Regions from separate parts of the Homo sapiens genome. Here region 1 is linked to region 2. The links are contacts of gene promoters, found by promoter capture Hi-C in human tissues and cell types (Jung and others, 2019). All regions are on one chromosome and are shown on one strand. The core of a region is centred on a gene start or on the middle of the fragment in contact, and the rest is flanking DNA. Distances in the headings are between cores, read along the strand shown.

Region 1 (2,817 bases), core at 208-2,707, 750 kb before region 2:
CTCTCAGCTTTTCTTCCCTCCCACGCTTCCCCCAGCTTGCTCCGCTCCCACCAGGTCCGGCTCCTTGCTGTTCCTCCAGCGTGCTCAGCACCCTTCTGCCCCAGGGCCTTTGCATGTGTGCCTCCTCCCTCACCTCCTTCTCCATTCGGGTCACCTTCTCAAAGACCTCCCCACCCTCCTCTGTACGGCAGCCCTGCTGGCACCTGCTTCCGTGTCCGGCTTCATTGCTTTTCATAGCACGCGGTGGCTGCTTTACGCGTTGGTTTGTTTGGGGTCTGCCCAAATGCAGGCCAGGGACACTGGGGGCTCGGTTTTGTTCTTGATTTGTCTCCAGGGCTTGGCACAGAGCAGAAGCCAGGAAACGTGGGTGATGGAAGGAAACATGAACAGGGAGACGCAGGACGTGAGGAAAAGGGAGCAGACGCCTTGGCCAGGGGCCCTCTGGGGAGAATCCTCTCATCTGGGGTTAACCATTGTTAGCAGCAAAACCTTTTAAACAAAATCTTACACAGAACCCCACAATACAGTTATCTATTTATTTTGAGACAAGGTCTCGCTCTGTCATCCAGGCTGGAGTGCAGTGGCAGAGTCACGGCTCACTGCAGCCTCAAGCTCCCAGGCTCAAGCCATCCTCCACCTTAGCCCCTCAAGTAGCTGGGACTACAGGTGTGCACCACCATGCCCGGCTTTTTTCTTTTTTTTAAGAGATGGGCTCTCGCTATGTTGCCCAGGCTCGCCCACTCCCTTGTTTTGTTTTGGTCACACAGTTCAGAGAAAATCTTGACATGTGTAAAAATTAGGAATAGGAACAAAAAAAAAAATCAGGTATCCTGTTCAATGAAGCAAAAAAGTCATATGATTTCATTTCCAAACCGTGAAGCTGCATTCGACTGGAACATCCTAAAAGGTAGCACACAACACATCTGACTTTGAGTGGATGTTTTGCTGCATTTTCTAAGCGTTCCAATATCATATTAAAAAGTCGAGGCTGGCTTGCAGACCCTCTGAAGCCCCAGGTGGGGTTGCCAAGTAAAAGAACCCCGGAATAGTTTTTTACGTCTAAGAATGTCTTGTTAAATTTGTATTTCAGGCATGGCACAGACCTAGGCTGAAAAACCGACTCACTGTTTGTCTGAAATTCACGTTGAACCTGGCGTCGTGCACTTCCATTTGCTAAATGTGGCCACCTGGCCCTGTTCAGGGAAGGGGTTTGGGGAACGCGCGGCGGGGTGGGGCGGGGCCTGGGCGGAGCCTGCCGCGCCTGGGCGGGGAGATGGCGTCATCAGACTCTTGGGGGCGGGGCTGCCACGCATGGGCGGGGGCGGGGGCGGGGAGAGAGGGCGGGGTCAGACGTGAGGGGGCGGGGCGGAACAGAACTGGGCGCGCGGGGGCGGGGCCGGGCGCGCCGGCGCACGTGACGGTGGTTGCCAGGGTGAAAGTTCAGCGCGCCGGCGGCACTTCCAACATGGCGGCGGCCGGGGCGGCGGTGGCGCGCAGCCCGGGAATCGGAGCGGGACCTGCGCTGAGAGCCCGGCGCTCGCCCCCGCCGCGGGCCGCACGGCTGCCGCGGCTGCTAGTGCTGCTAGCGGCGGCGGCGGTGGGGCCGGGCGCGGGCGGTGCGGCGCGGCTGTACCGCGCGGGCGAGGACGCCGTGTGGGTGCTGGACAGCGGCAGCGTGCGCGGGGCCACCGCCAACAGCTCGGCCGCGTGGCTCGTGCAGTTCTACTCGTCGTGGTGTGGCCACTGCATCGGCTACGCGCCCACTTGGCGGGCCCTGGCTGGGGATGTGCGAGGTGAGGCGCGCCCCCGCGCGGGGACCCCCCGACCCCCGGGACCGCGGCCTTCCGGGACCCCTTGCGACCGCCCCAGAAGGCGGGTCCCGGGGCCCCTCCCCCGTATTTCTTTCCTTACCGCAGAGCCAGTCCCTGCCCCACAGAGGCACCCGACTCGGACCAACCCTGGCCTTTCCAGGGGCGGGAGACTAAGCCAGCTGCTCCCCATGTCTCTCCCAGTTAATCCCCGTTAGATCCTGACGAGTTGGGCTGTCTGAAGTCAAAATGAAACCATTCTCCCGCAGCCCTCACCGCACGCTTGGGGATAGGGAAGCCCTCCCGTATCCCAGCTCTCAAAATACCTATGTTTTGAGCCCCAAGAACTTCATTGACCTTCCAGGCCTCCTACCCTACCTGTTTCCTAGCGTCCACACACCCCATCCCCAGTGCCCAGAATTCCTGTTCTCTGAGGATCCCTCATTCCTATTCCACACTCGTAGCCACCCCATTCCCTTTGAACCTTCATCATTAACTTTCTGGTTCGGATCGCTGGCCATATAGTGGGTGCTCAAAGTGAACCCACAACTTAGAAGTCCAAATACTCTGGAGACTTCTCTATAATACCCCAAAACAACCTATAAAGCAATTTTTTTAACTCTACAAAGAATTTCATTGGTGGGCTCCTTGATCACAGATGCACAGCCTTTGAGAAATCTTTCACCAAACTGCTGGTAGTGTTCCGCACTTTATTGTTTAGTGCTTTCATCTGGTCGCACGTTGTTAACCAGTCACGAAGTTACTCGCCTGCTCTACAGGTTAGAGTTGGCGTGGGAGGGGGCATTCACAACACCCTTCCCTTAAAATGGTATTTAAATCACTGAAGTAGGAGGTCCTCCCGACCCAGTGAGGTTTGGCAGGACTTCCTGTGTTGTGCTAACCTCAAATTACATGTTTCAGTGGGCAAGATCTGTAACAAATTGCTACTCTTTCTTCCTGCACCTTTGTTTTTATGCCTTACACCCAATCCTGCTGTATTTTTCTCATC
Region 2 (3,017 bases), core at 387-2,886:
ATTCCTCCTCCCCGCAGCCCAGAAGGCCCAGCCCGATCCGGGGGGACCAACCTTACAGGTTCTGCCCTCAGCCTTTCCATTTCTGAACCCGTGGAGTCCTGCAACCCCCAGCAGGCCTGCCCTATCAAGGGCTGTGAGCGCCACACCAAGGCACACAAGAGCGTCCGCCAAGCTGAGGAATAAACTCCTGCTTCTCTGTGGGGCTCTGTATTCCCATGTGGAGGAGGATGGGGCTGTAATCACCTAAAACTGACATAGGCCAGTTCAAAAGTGGCCCTAGAACCAGAGCAGGTCCCAGGTTCCTCCTGGGAACCGCCCCGGGCTCAGATGGGGGTGTCACCTACCTGTGCCGACAGCCAGCTTTGTGTCCCAGATGGACTCGGGCATCGAAGAGGCTTCTCACGGAAAACAGTTCCTTGACATTGAAGAAGTCAGAGTGCTTGAGGGGCTCATTCAAAATCTTGTCGTTGAAATCTACGGCAGGGAGGAGGAGCGACGCTGCGTCTCCCACCGGTGGCAGCAGAGACAGGCAGAGCGCAGTTCCCGCCCACCCCTGCTCCCAAGTGCCTTCTGTGACACCGAGGTGGGGAGCCGGGAGCCCAGCAGCCCCAGGAAAGACCTGGAAGCACAGGGACCTTTTCAGGAAACAGAGGGCTGGAGCCAGGTTCTGATCCCGACCTTGCTCCTGGGTAAGCCTGGTCGAACCTGGTCAACCCCGTCCCTTGGTCTTACTTGGAAGACAGAGGAGAAAAAGAGAGGGGCCCAGCGGGTTGCTCAGGTCTTTCTGGCACCTCCCCGCCTTGTGGTCTCAGGTGGCCAGCCAGAAAGTCCCCATCAGGAGTCCAGCAAGGTGGGCAGACTCCAAGCCCAGTGCCCCCAGGTCACTTGGGCCCGCCTGGGCGAGCTCGGGGCTCCGGGCCTCGGTGGTCCAGTGACACCCCCCTAGGGAGCGAAGCCTGTGCTAACCACTGGCCCGCCCGCTCCCTCTCACCCTATCCATGGTGAGGCGGTGGCCTCAGCCCGCTGTGCTACGTCAGGCAGGACCGAGCGGCGGCGAGCACGGGAGTGGGAGGAGCCCAGCGGAGCGCGCAGTTTCGACCGCGTGCAGCGCCCAGGCCCCTCTAGGGTTCGCATCCCCCGCGGCTGCCGGCCTCTCCTCGTTCCCACCCAACTCGGCTGGGCGCCCAGTGTTACCGGTGCTGTCCTCCGACTCGCGGATCATAAGGGCCGTCGCGCTTCCAAGCGTCCTGCGGCTCGGCCGAGCAGGCCGGGGGGTCGCCTTCCCGAGAAAGCCCAACCAGCGCGACGGGGCCCGGGCACCTGGGGGGAAGTAGATAGAGGTCCTGGCGCCGAGTCCCGAATGCACCACGCCCGCTCCCCACCGCATCCCCAACGGGCCCCTCCGCGTCCCTAACGGGTCCCCTCCGCGTCCCCGCGCCCTCCCCGAGTCCCCTCCGCGCTCGCCCCGGGTCCCCTCCACGTCCCCGCCGCTCCATCGGGTCCCCGCGCCCCTCCGCATCCTCCTCGCATGCTCCTCCCCAGGGTCCCGCAAGCGCGCGCTCACCCGCGCCGAGTATTCGGGGCAGCGCGGCCGAGGATGTCGCCATGGCTGGGACGCGGGGCAGAGCGAGGTCTCCCTCCAGGCCAGGCCGAGCGGCCTCCCCTTCCGTCGCCATCCGCGCGGGGCCGCAGTGCCGCCTACAGGCCCGGAGGAGCCACAGCGCTGTCCCCAGGCGGCTGGGACCTCCCTGCGGGGGCGGGGCACGCGAGGGGTCAGGGCCCGGGGTCCTGGGCTTGAGAGTCTCGGGCGGGGAGTGGAGCCACGGTCCTCGCCCTGCAGCTCGCCCCGCCCTGCTAATGGGACCGGCCAGCCCGGGAGGCCCCTGACCCTTGGGGAAGCCCGCTGGGCGATGGGGACCCTCGCCTCCCGCCAAGTGAGCTGTGAACCACGTCCTGCGCAACCTCTCGCTCTCCAAAACTGTTTGTAATATTTAAACGATATTTGGCTTAGGAGAATTTCATAAAGTTAGCCAGATCTCGGGTCTCAATTTAGACTCGGGGTGCTGGGGGGCATAGCATCCCTGGAGTACATTGGACAGCAAAAGTCCAATCGTTGCCTGCCGAGTGGACCTGCAGTGCTTAAACCCCGTCACCCGGCTGGCGGGGTCCCAGGCCCTGGGGTTTCTTTCGCCCGGGAGTCCACGCCCTGATGCTGGGGTGGCCCGGTCCCCCCGCGGGTGGCTGGGGGCCTGGGGCTGCCTCACACGACGGTCCCAGCAGGGAATCTCTCGCCGTCCCGACCTTCCCGGCCCTTGGGGAGTCGCCCGGCAGGTTCCGGACCCACCCGCAGAGGAACCCGGCCCACGCGCGGCGCCTTTAAGGCCCCTCCGCTCGCTCCCCAGTCACGTGACCTGGCCGTCGCTTGGCAACAGGACGCCGCCGAGTCCCGCTTCTCCTCCAGGCACAATGGCTGAGGAATGCCCCAGAGCGTGCGCGGAGCCTGTGGCGCCCAAGGCCACGGCCCCGCCGGAGAGGACCAGCGACTACTACCGCGTGAGCGCGGACCTGCCGGGCAGGTTCAACAACCCGGGGTGGTTCCGGGGCTACAGGTGAGGAAGCTGGGGCCCGCCTGGTCCTGGCGTCCACTGCTCGATAGCCCCGTGTGTGAGAGACCCCGCAAGACCCCCAAGGTCCTAGCTACAGAAATCAAGAAGATCGAGTGGTCATCCGGGGCCCGCGCTGTCATCGCCCGCCAGTGAGCGGCGACCGTGCTCCCTAGAGCCTCATACAAGGAAGTGGGGATAAGGGCAGTGGGGGGCAGGGCCGTGGGGGGAGAAAGCCCAGTTGTGGTCTCAGCTCCACTGATTTGTGTCGGGTGAGTCTCCTCTCCTCTCTACCCTGAAACTCCGCTGCGGGGCGTGAGCACAGCAGCACCTCCACTGTCTTGCTGTAGACTCAGCCAGCTCTGAGCTGCCACAGGGCATTGCAGGCTAAGAAGTAGTAAGAAACTCAATTCC

Evidence for each region. The method cuts DNA at HindIII sites, captures the fragments that hold promoters and counts their contacts. A contact is called where the count stands out against the background at its distance.
Region 1: the fragment with the promoter of QSOX2 here is called in contact with the fragment with the promoter of MRPS2 in region 2 in 1 of the 25 tissues and cell types used here (mesenchymal stem cells).

What each region holds. Positions count from the first base shown.
Region 1 is chr9:136,244,452-136,247,268 of GRCh38, reverse strand. It overlaps QSOX2 (quiescin sulfhydryl oxidase 2), which reads left to right and starts at 1,457. Exons shown (of 12, transcript NM_181701.4): 1 at 1,457-1,793. The coding sequence starts at 1,466. RefSeq lists silencers at 1,220-1,489, 1,520-1,929. The HindIII fragment of the contact is 9,280 bases long and covers 1-2,817 here.
Region 2 is chr9:135,499,301-135,502,317 of GRCh38, reverse strand. MRPS2 (mitochondrial ribosomal protein S2) reads right to left here and starts at 1,636. Exons shown (of 4, transcript NM_016034.5): 1 at 1,565-1,636; 2 at 1,195-1,320; 3 at 345-474. The coding sequence starts at 1,607. It overlaps PIERCE1 (piercer of microtubule wall 1), which reads left to right and starts at 2,449. Exons shown (of 3, transcript NM_001048265.2): 1 at 2,449-2,609. The coding sequence starts at 2,467. RefSeq lists an enhancer at 787-1,411 and silencers at 1,367-1,526, 1,737-1,906, 2,177-2,346. The HindIII fragment of the contact is 18,925 bases long and covers 1-3,017 here.